2 separate regions of the Homo sapiens genome follow, and region 2 is linked to region 1. Evidence: promoter capture Hi-C in human tissues and cell types (Jung and others, 2019). All regions are on one chromosome and are shown on one strand. Each heading gives the region's core, a stretch centred on a gene start or on the middle of the fragment in contact. The rest is flanking DNA. Distances are from core to core; before and after follow the strand shown.

What was found. The method cuts DNA at HindIII sites, captures the fragments that hold promoters and counts their contacts. A contact is called where the count stands out against the background at its distance.
Region 2: a fragment that was not itself captured here is called in contact with the fragment with the promoter of F13A1 in region 1 in 1 of the 25 tissues and cell types used here (dorsolateral prefrontal cortex).

The regions. Positions count from the first base shown.
Region 1 is chr6:6,318,182-6,323,691 of GRCh38, reverse strand. F13A1 (coagulation factor XIII A chain) reads left to right here and starts at 3,030. Exons shown (of 15, transcript NM_000129.4): 1 at 3,030-3,105; 2 at 5,010-5,157. The coding sequence starts at 5,028. The region is part of intron 1 of LOC124901253 (a long non-coding RNA gene); the gene reads right to left. The HindIII fragment of the contact is 8,313 bases long and covers 1-5,510 here.
Region 2 is chr6:5,447,912-5,453,421 of GRCh38, reverse strand. The region is part of intron 4 of FARS2 (phenylalanyl-tRNA synthetase 2, mitochondrial); the gene reads right to left. FARS2-AS1 (FARS2 antisense RNA 1) reads left to right here. Exons shown (of 2, transcript NR_125848.1): 2 at 665-954. Among named protein-coding and RNA genes, the nearest start is that of FARS2-AS1, 7.4 kb to the left of the region's middle. The HindIII fragment of the contact is 5,037 bases long and covers 605-5,510 here.

The DNA of each region.
Region 1 (5,510 bases), core at 1,781-4,280:
ATCGACTTTGTTTAGCACAAGGAAAGCCATTGCATTTATGATGCTCTTGAGGTTAGTGGTTTGGGGGAGTCAGAAAGCCAACCACTGTGTGTGTATGTTCACAAAGCCAATAATTAGTCTAAGGCCAAAAGTGACACCGTGGAGGTGGTTGTGAGGGTGACAATCCTGTTCTGAATGCACAACTCAACCCCAAGTCCCAGGGGTACCTGGCATCTGCGTAACCTCATCTGAAGGGTGCAAGGGTGGCTGCTCATCCTCCAACCCCACATGGATGAGGGTATCTTGGAATTCTAGACACTCAGATTTGATGTTTGCCAGGAGAACTACCAGAATATGATCGTTAAGGATTGGGGGAGGGTTTAAAAATACTGAGGAGACCTGAAATTGTATGAATGCTGAGGGGAAGCAGTGCTAGACATCTTTAGGGTCTTTCTCTAGCACTCAGCAAGGGATGTGGCAAAGACGGCCTTTGGATAGTTAAGTGGTCAGCAGCCTCTCTCCAGGGAACTCTGGCTGGAGTCCCTACCTTTTTGTACTCTAGTGCAGGTACAGCCAAGGAAACAGAAAATGATCATGCAGTGTGAGGAGCACTACAACAAGGCAAACTCCTTGCAAGACAACTGGGGAGTCAGTGGAGGGAGACTGGGCAGGGAAGAAAGATGGCAGAGGAAGATGATAGGGAAGAAAGATGGAAGCCAAATGGCAGAAGCTTAGTGATGAAGAGGAGGAGAGGAGAAACAACAGTGGAAGGCAGGGAGGGTAGATTGGTGTTGGGGGAAGGTTTTTTAAAAATACTGGAGACCTCAAATTGTATGGATGCTGAGGGAAAGAGCAGTGCTAGAGGCAGGGTCCAGCTTGTATAGGCCTTGTCAGTTTCAGCTTGCAATTTATCCAAAAAGCAAAGAGAAGTAGCCATATAAGGGCTTTGTGCAAATAATTTGATTTCGGATTTTAGCCCTGAAATGCTCATTCTGACTGCACTGTAGAGAATGGACTGGAAAGGGGTACATACACGGGTAGATTCAAGGGCTGTTTAAGAGGTAGGATAGAAAATATTTGCTCAAGGATCGGATTTGATGATTGAGGGAGAGAAACAAGGAAGCCTCAAGAATGATGCCCATGTGTCTGGTGTACCACCTGCGTGCAAAGTGATGGTATTCATTGAGGTAGGGAACTCCTGAGATGCACCAGGTTTTCCAGGAAAGTGATACATCTCATGTTAGACATGATGAGCGTGTGTTGTCACTGGGATGTGACAAATGAGGATAGCCAGTAGGCACTTAGATACGGGAATCTGCAATTCTGGAAAAGATCTTGGCTAAAGACCCAGATTTGGGAGGTGTCAGGATATAGATGGAATTTGAAAACTATGGGAGTTCCTCAGACAATCAAGGAATATTGCGCTGCACTGGAGGAAACCACAGAGTGTTCAATGTCAAGGAGGCCTAGGAAAAATACCTTCAAAGACAGAGTTCAATGCTTCCAAAAGGTCAGGTAAATAAGAACTGAATCCTGTCTTTTGGCCTGAGCACAGGCCTTGGAGACCGTGACCTCCACTTTCAGTAGAATGATGAGGCGGAAGCCAGATGGCAGATACTTAGTGATGAAGGGGAGGAGAGGAGGAGTAACAGCAGGAGTGGGGACATAGGTTGGGGGAGGTTTTTAAAAAAATACTGAAGAGACCTGAAATTGCATGAATGCTGAGAAGACCCACTATTAGCAAGCAGGAGCTTGAAGCTGCAAGAGGAAGAGTACGTAAGAGTCACAGCAAAGCCCCGGAGAACAAGGCAACGCAGAAGCCTGGTTTGGAGATGCAGAGGGAGGAGGGACCTTTCCAACTTCAGTAACAAGAAGAAAGAGGAAAAGATAGATAAGGTTGCAGGCAGGTTCATAGATTGGTAGCAGAAAATTGAGAGAATTTCTAACCAATGGCATCTTTTTTTTTCTTCTTTATAACATTGGGAGATTGAGTGGCAGGGTCAGAAATTTGAAGACAGTAAAGAAGGTTAGAAATAGCCATGTTTGACTGGGTGCGGTGGCTCACGCCTGTAATCCCAACACTTTGGGAAGCCAAGGAGGGTGGATCACCTGAGGTCAGAAGTTCGAGACCAGCCTGGCCAACATGGTAAAGCCCCATCTCTACTAAAAATACAAAAATTAGGCGGGCATGGTGGCATGCACCTGTAGTTCCAGCTACTTGGGAGGCTGAGGCAGAAGAATCACTTGAACCCGGGAGGTGGAGGTTGCACTCCAGCCTTTGCAACAGAGCAAGACTTCATCTGAAAGATAGAAAGATGAAAGAAAGAAAGAAAGAAAGAGTAAAAGAAAAAAATTAAAATTTTAGGGGGAAAATTTTCTAATTTTTGAACATGCACTAAAATGATTTTCAGAGAAAACCAAGTGTTATTTTCTAATCTGCATGGCATTATTAAAGATGTTTACTCATCTTCCTTGGGGCTAGGCATCCCATTCCTGCAGGAAGTCTTGTGGTTAGGCGGTGGCTGTGGCTCTGGGATGATTCAGGAATGCAGACCATGCCTTATTTGCACAGGAGGGACACGTTGCTCTCACTGCATGCATGGTCACAACTGTCTGTGTGACCTGTCTGTGGGAGGGCAGACCCCCCTCCTGCCAAGCCACAGTAGCAGCTGACCTGCCAGGCAAAAGCATTCCTTTGTAAAGGAAACCCTCCCAGACCCTCTGACCAAAGGGGACGGGTGGGGACTTCCTGGCACTGCAGGGCCCCTTGCCTGGTACTCCCAGCAACTGGTTGCGGTGGGGAGGGCAGATCTAGGGATGGGGATGGGGAGGAGAAGTGGGAATGGGAAATTGGGAGTCAGAGGGGCAAGTGGGAGAGAAGGGCGCACCTGCCGGGATAACAGGCCAGATGAAGTAAATAGAAAATCCTCTGAGCTCCCCTACTGGCTCCAGCTGTGGAGAAGGGGGAGGAGAAAACCCTGTGGGACAGGGGAGGAGGGTGAGGGCTCCTCTTAGGAAGTTATTTAAGAGCCAACTGTCTTGTCTTTCCCGAGTCCGTTTGAGGAAGTCCCCGAGGCGCACAGAGCAAGCCCACGCGAGGGCACCTCTGGAGGGGAGCGCCTGCAGGTAAGCCACCGACCCTGCACCCTATGAGCCAGGGCCCGCTGCGTCCACCTTCTGCACCTCGGTTTCCTGGTTGAACCAGCAAGCGGCTTGCTCTGGGCCCTGTGGCGCCGGTCACAGGCAGCTCCACTTGCCCAATCCTGGCTTCCCGCCCCCAACTCCGCACCTGCCCAGCCCAGCTTCTAAGCGGGACTTCTCTCAGGCTCTCGAGGCAGCTCTCCCGAAGCCGTTGCTTGCTTAGAATGCCACCAAATGGGGATGGGGGAGTTGGAGGTGCTTCCCCAAGGGACGAGCCCCCTTTCCTCAGGGAGCAGATTATGGAGCTGGAACACAAAAGGTGGAGGGAGTGGGGCCAAGTGAGAACAGCCTGCTAGACTGGAACCCCGCCGGCTTGGCTCCCCACTCCTGCGCGCCTCCCCACTCCTGCGCATCGCCTGCCTCCGTCCCAATTTGGAGCTGAACTCGAGCCACTTCTCCTCCTTAGACCCGCCCAGAAGCGAGGGCTCCTGCCCGCCGCACTCACCCAGCCAGGCGTGCACCTGGGGCTCCCCCCTTCTCCCCCTTAGCACTGTGTCTCCCGACAGCGCGCCACACTGTTCTGCACCCCTGGCAATGCCGCAGCCTACCTTCGGTATTTCTCACTAGAGGATGGCTCTCGCAGCCTTCTCCCTATCATTAACCCTTTTTCGCTCTTCTCCCTCCCTTCCCCCGTCAGCTCACCAATGACTGTAAATATATTTATCTATACTTATGGATACCCATTCACACCTTATGCATCCAAACACTCCTGTCTCCTTCTCAGACCAGACACCTTAGGCGTGGTTGTCTTTTCTCCAGCATGTTGTTAGTGCTCCACATGTCTCTGGAACCATCTCTCTACTCTGGTGGCCTCTATAATGGGGACTCTTCACCTCTTGGGGGTGTGCCTGGTTTTTGAAAATAGCCAAGTCTCCAGGAGTCATGACTGGGTAATCCAGGGGATCAAGGGGGAACCTTCACTGGGCCCAGAAACAAAGTCCCCCTTCATTTGGTCATTTGGTCAACAAGTACTTACTGGGCACTGACCGTCAGGTGTGTGTTGTTTAAACTGGCTCAGTGCCTGCACAAGCTCCAAGGGAAGGGGAAGCAGGCTTGGGGAATGGGAAATGTTGGCAACCCTGACTTCTTAAGCCTATTGATAGCCCTATTGAAAATTGCATGCCCAACCTCTCCACCTCCTTATCCTCCTCCATGTGGCTCAATTTCCAAAGCAGTTCCTACCTCCTCACCCCTAAGTGGATTTACTTATGGCTCTTCTTGGGCTCCACCCTAACCCTATCAGACTATAATCTATCAGAGCAAACATTCTGTTTTGTTCTCTGATGTATCCCATGTACCTAGATCACAGCCTGGCATGTCATAGGCCCTCAATAAATATTGGTTGAATTAAATTGCAAATGTAAACGCTTTAGAAGACAACATTTGTCTGGACATGGTTGTGTGCGTTTATTCTTAAAAGTGACTTATAATCTCATAAATCTGTATGAAATGAACATAGATACAGCACATGCATATAACAGGAAACATTTCTTGCGAAGATGCTGCTGTAGGATTATGGAGGGTGGGGGAATCTGGGTCTCCAAAAATCTTTTAATTTTTAAATTTCTTTGAATAAGCCCCTTTTCTTCTGCTTTCCATATGTTTTGACACATACAAAAATCTCCCCAAGATCCTTGGGGAACTGTATTCCATCATTAGACTAATCCTTGCTGCCACTTCTCAGTTTTTATTTATGCAAACGGCAAAATGTGTTGCTCAAGTGCTATCACACACAGATATATCTGTTTCTCTATTTTGGAATCCTTGTCTCAAATGTTACTCACTTTACATGCCTTTTCTGTTGTCTTCTTTTTTTTTTTTTTCTGAAGGACCTTGTAAAGTCAAAAATGTCAGAAACTTCCAGGACCGCCTTTGGAGGCAGAAGAGCAGTTCCACCCAATAACTCTAATGCAGCGGAAGATGACCTGCCCACAGTGGAGCTTCAGGGCGTGGTGCCCCGGGGCGTCAACCTGCAAGGTATGAGCATACCCCCCTTCCCCACCACTCTGGGTCCAGGCACAGCCGGGCCCTGGCCCCTCTTCCCTGCAGGTAAACATCCTCTGTCTCCACTGGGGTTCCCACAAAAGGAAGCCCCCTGCCAATCTCTGGTTTTATAAAGGAAGAAAGCAAAAGCTTTCTTTTAAGTGGTGAAAGCACCGAAGACCCAGAGCCTTGTCCCAGTTCTGCCCCTTACTGACCTTGTAACCTCAGAGAAGTTGCTTTGTCTTTCTGCCTCTCAACTATTTCCTCTACAAAACCAGAGTGCTGGATTAGCTAGGGCCTCTTCCAGCCCTACTGCTCAATGCTTTAGAGAATTTTCTCTAGCTGGA
Region 2 (5,510 bases), core at 1,874-4,373, 870 kb after region 1:
TTTTATCTTGCAGACACTGTAGATAGTATTAATTAATTATGTTTCCCTCCTTCCTTTTACCACTAGGCAGCTGAAATCCAAATCTATGCTTTTTTGTGGCAACTGAGAGAAATGTATATTTCTTCGTGCAAACTTACCCTAGCTTTGTTATTTTCATATTCTTATTTTCCCTTTACCTTTTGCCCCTTGGTTTTTGTTTTCTCCAGATATATCTGTATCTACAGATGTCACTATCTCATATCCTTTACAGAACGATGTTGCAGTTAAATTTGTAAATAAATTGAATAGTTAAGCGAAGGATGCTTTAGTCCTCCACAATTTACTATGTTGTGCAAACTTCAGTAGTGGAGTTTTCCAAACCAAGGCAATTAATCCTCAGTTAAGCTGATTCTCAAACGGACCTACACAGAACGGTTTCCACTCCCATCCCGTACCCCTACTTTTGCCCACCGCACACCCTGCAAAACATCTAGTGATATGATTAGGTGGGCTTCAGGTGCCTGTCTTCAACCTTTCCACTTCCCTTAGCCCTTCACAGCATCCATTTTATCCGCTGATCTCTGGGTCCCGTCAGTTCTACTTGCCCAGGTCTCCAGAATCTATTTCCCCCCTTGAATTTCTACTGCTATAGCTGTAATTCACAGGCTCAATGTTTCTCTTCCAGGTATGATGCTCCACTTGGTCTCACTGCCTCCCGTCTCTGCTCCATCCAATCTATCTTCCAGTCCAGAAGTGAAGGTTTTGTGCCAAAATGCATTCACCCATCCAAACATTCAATAAATATCTACTAAGTACCCACTAAAGGTTAGGTGTGCGTGAAGCCCTGGTGGCAAAGAAATAAACAGACCCGACCTCTTCCCTCAAACAGCTAGTGAACAGTGCAAACCATGGCATGGTTTGAAAAATGAGCATGAGGACTGCCCAGGGTCCCTTTGGGAAATGCTGAACAGAGTGTGCATGGCACATTCAACAGTTCCTTGGAGCATGGAGTACCCACGGGCAAGAGTGGGAGAGAAAGCGAGGAGGCAGGCAAAGGCCAGGGCAGGAAGGCCCCAAAAGGCCATGTGGACCTCACCACGTGATTTCTGTTTAGAAACTTTCAATGGTGCCCCATTCCAAACCCTTAAGTATGGCCTCTGTGCGTCCTGGTGTAGCCCCCAAGCTACATTTCTGATCCATTCTCAACTCCTAGTACTGTGCTACACCCATCTACACCTCACTCCTCAAAGACTCGAAGTAAACTCATGCTCTTGGCCTGATTCAAATAATTCCCTTAGGCCACTCTGGACCCCAAACCGTCTCCTCCACATCTCGGCCTGCTGAAACCGGACTTACCGTTTCTTCAGTATAATACTGCAGCCACTAACCAGTAGGAATTAAGCATGGTCCTACCTTCAAGGAGGTTAGACTCTTGTGGAAGAAAAGGATAAGTTTAGTTAACTATCGTGTAACTATAAAAGACATGGTGATGATATGTGATAGGTGTTTCCAAAAAATCACTTCACTGTAGTAACAATACAGTGGGAAATGAGTTGTCGGACTTTGCAAGGAATGTTTCAAGAATAAAAGCATTTAAACTGATCCTTGCCAGTTAAATAGGGTCCAACCAATCACAACAGACACTAATACCAGCTGATTGTTACCTTTCCATCTCTTGCTGTACCTCGTTAACAATAGAATCTCAAAAAATGCCTGCTGAATAAACCATACATATGCATAATAAACTCCAAAAGAAAGTATTAATTATGTAGAGTATCATCCTTAATGTTACTTCTCTTCATTCTAACAAAAATCTAGAGAGGATTTTATATTAGCCTTATGCCACTGAGACTGATGTCCCCAATGTCCCCTGTAACCTCAGACATGGGTTACATGAGGACCTTAGTGATTAAAAAGTCTCCACTGGCTATTTCTCCATTGATTATGGAAATGAGCAGTGAGCCCCAGCTCCCCAATTCTTACGACAGTTCAAGAACCATCACCTTGACATACTTGAGAATTAAATACTAAGCAGAACATGTTTCCTGGAGACAAGAATAATTGAATTTTCATGAAACGTAATGCAATGTTTGTTCATTCTATGTAAACACATACAGATTGCAAGTAAGGCTAGATTAATTCCTTCAAAGCACACTAGATTTCCACAAACCTAATGAAGCTGTCTGAGGTAATAAAGCCTTAGAAGTCAACATTTGAAGACTTTTTCATTTATTTCCCTATACCTGAAGTGGCAGGATAAAAATAAGATGAAAATATAGGACTTTTATATGTAAATTAATCCCAAAGTAACTTTTCCAGGAAATATACAAAAAGTTCAGAATGAAAGCAAACTATGTGTGCATACATAGGAATGAGCAGTGGCCTAGAAAACCCTGAAGTGTTTACAGCACCTCCAATCGTATCTAAAATACTAGATTCCTGTCAGTGGAGCAGGATTTTTCCCAAATCTTCATGAAAGGAGGCTGAGGCAAACAAAGCAGAAGATGAGGGGAGGACCCTGAATACCTTCATGGAGAATCACGGAAGATTTTCCAGAGAGGCACGGCAATAATGAAAGAGACAGCCCAAGGCATGTATCCAGGGATTCCAAGCAGGGCAGACTGGAGGAGGGAAACCCTGGAGGCAAGGAGACCCCTAAGAAGAGGTTCTCAGAGAAGCCCCTGTGTGCTTCTCCCGCCTCAACCTTTGAACAGGCTGTCCCTTGTGCCTGGACTAACAGGCGGCACACTACCTCCCACACGCCAAGTCTGGATCCCTAACCCTCTGGTTTTTGTAAGGCCTACAAGCTAGGAATGAATTTTACCTTTTTAAATGGTTGAAAAACATCAAAAGAAGAATACTATTCATGATGCATGGAAATCAGGGGAAATTTTCTGTATCCGTAAATAAGGAGTTATTGGAACCCGGCCACACTTCACCGATGGCCACCGCGACCTTCACACTACAACGGCATGGGGGAGCTGGAGCAGGAGACCAAGGCCGCCCCAAACCCAAATGCCTACCACTTGGCCCCTTACCAAACTAGTTTGCCCCTGCAGCCCACATCACGCTTCCCCTCCCCCACTCCCTGTTACCACCAACCCTTACTCATTCCTCACATCTCAGAGTAGGAGGCCTTTCTGAAAGCTTCCCCAAGTCACACTAGATGCCACCTCCTACTCTTCCCACAGTGCAATGTACTGCTCTCCTCACAGCAGGTGTCAGCACACACTGACATTACACATTTACCTCACCATATTTCCCACCTGACTGTGAGCTGCAGGAGGGCAGGGGCCATCTGTAGCCTCATACAGTTGACCCTTGAACAACAAAGATTGGAACTACACAGGTTCACTTCTACACGGATTGTTTTTAACCAACTGTGGGTCAAAAATACAGTATTTGCAGGATGCAAAACCCATGTATACAGAGGGCCAACTTTTCATACACACAGGTTCCTCAGGGAAGTGCAGGACTTGAGTATGTGCAGATTTTGGTATACTCAGGAGTCCTGGAATCAATCCCACATGTATACCAAGGGATGACCATATTTTCGTCATTAATTGGTACAGCTTGAGTATCTCAAATCTGAAAAACCTGAAATCTTAAATGCTCCAAAATCCAAAACTTTTTGAGGGCCCACATGATGCTCAAAGGAAATGCTCATTGGAACATTTCTGATTTCGAGTTTTCGGATTACGAATGCTAAATCAGTAAGTATAATGCAAATATTCCAAAACACACACACACAAAATCCAAAACCTAAAACATTTCTTGTCCCAAGCATTTAACATAAGAGATATGCAATCTGTACTACCAGGTATTCAGCAAATATTGAAATGAATGAATGCATGAACAATGAATGAATAAGTCAAATAAAGACCTGAACCACATGAGAACTTTTGCCTTATGCCAATGAATTCTAGTAAATTTAATAGATAAAGGAACCCAGGAGAATATTTATTTTTCTGAAACCTTATACTTTTTGGCCTTTCTCTTCTTTCTTTATAATAATTTTCATATATACACATATATAAAAAATCTTAAGTCTATGAGTTTTCTTTTTCTTTTTTTTCTTTTTTTTTTTTTTGAGATGGAGTCTTACTCACTCTGTCAGCCAGGCTGGAGTGCAGTGGCAAAGTCTTGGCTCACTGCAACCTCTGCCTCCCAGGTTCAAGCGATTCTCCTGCCTCAGCCTCCCGAGTAGCTGGTATTACAGGTGCCCACCAACACACCCAGCTAATTTTTGCATTTGTAGTAAAGATGGGGTTTCACCATGTTGGCCAGGTTGGTCTGGAACTCCTGACCTCAAGTGATCTGCCCGCCTCGGCCTCCCAAAATGCTAGGATTACAGGCGTGAGCCACGGCACCCGGCCAGTGACTTTTAACTTCACTGATGAATTCAAAATCTCTTACAGAGCTCTCTTACGCTCTCCGATCTTTCACGTGCAACTATCTCCTAGATGTTCCTACCTAGATGTCTTATAGACACTTCAGACTTAAGAGTTCAAAAGCTTGGGTGCAACCTACATAGCTTCTCTGTCTCCATCTTGTGAAATGGCATCATGAGTCACCAAGGCTAACTTAGCACCATCCTCCATTTTGCTCACTGCTTACCCTCATTCAATCCACATATCAGATATGACTGCTTCACCCCAGGTCTACTTAATAGGCATGATGTCTATAAGAATTATAAATGCATATACTGTGTGATTTAGCAATTCCACTTCAAGAAATAAATCCTATAAATGTACTTGCACGCAAAATGTGACACATGTACATAGTTATTCACTGAAACATTGTTTTTAATAGCAAAAGAGGGAAACACACAAAATGCCCATCAAGGGAGCACTGATTAAATACATTATGGTTCATACACACAATGCAATACCATGCAGCTGTGAATAGAAATGGGAATGCTTTCTAACGTGCAAACATCTCTAAAATACACTGTAAGTGAAAAAAAAAAAACAGAAAAAATGTGTGCTGCTTTGGTTTTTAAGAAGAAAGAAAAAGAATACATATTTGTATTTGCATTAAAAAACTTAAAGGATACAGAAAAACAGACATGAAAGCAGTGGGAGGGAGAGTGTACACACTCACAGGCACACTCACACCCCAAATAAATGCATGACCTATAAAATAATTGTATACAATACATGAAGAGGCGGACTCCCTTCTTCCACTTTCTCATCGCCTTCCCTTCCCAAATACGTCTCTACTGGCTGCAATAACAACAGCACAGAGTCCACACTCCTTTAGCTTTGTGTATAAAGCCTCACATGCCAGGATTCTCTGGATCTACCTCCCACCAGCACTCTCACTGTCCCCTAGGCTACCCCAACCACACTGCGATTCTTTGTCCTCAAATAAACATTCTGGATCTTTCGAAACTCTGTATCTTTGAATGTGCTATCCCATCTGCCTAGAAGGCCCTGCCTTCCTATTGTGCTGGCAAAGGCCTATGCATTCTTCAAGACGAAGGTAAAAGAACACTCTTCAAGGTAATTCTTCTGGGATAACCTCCCTGA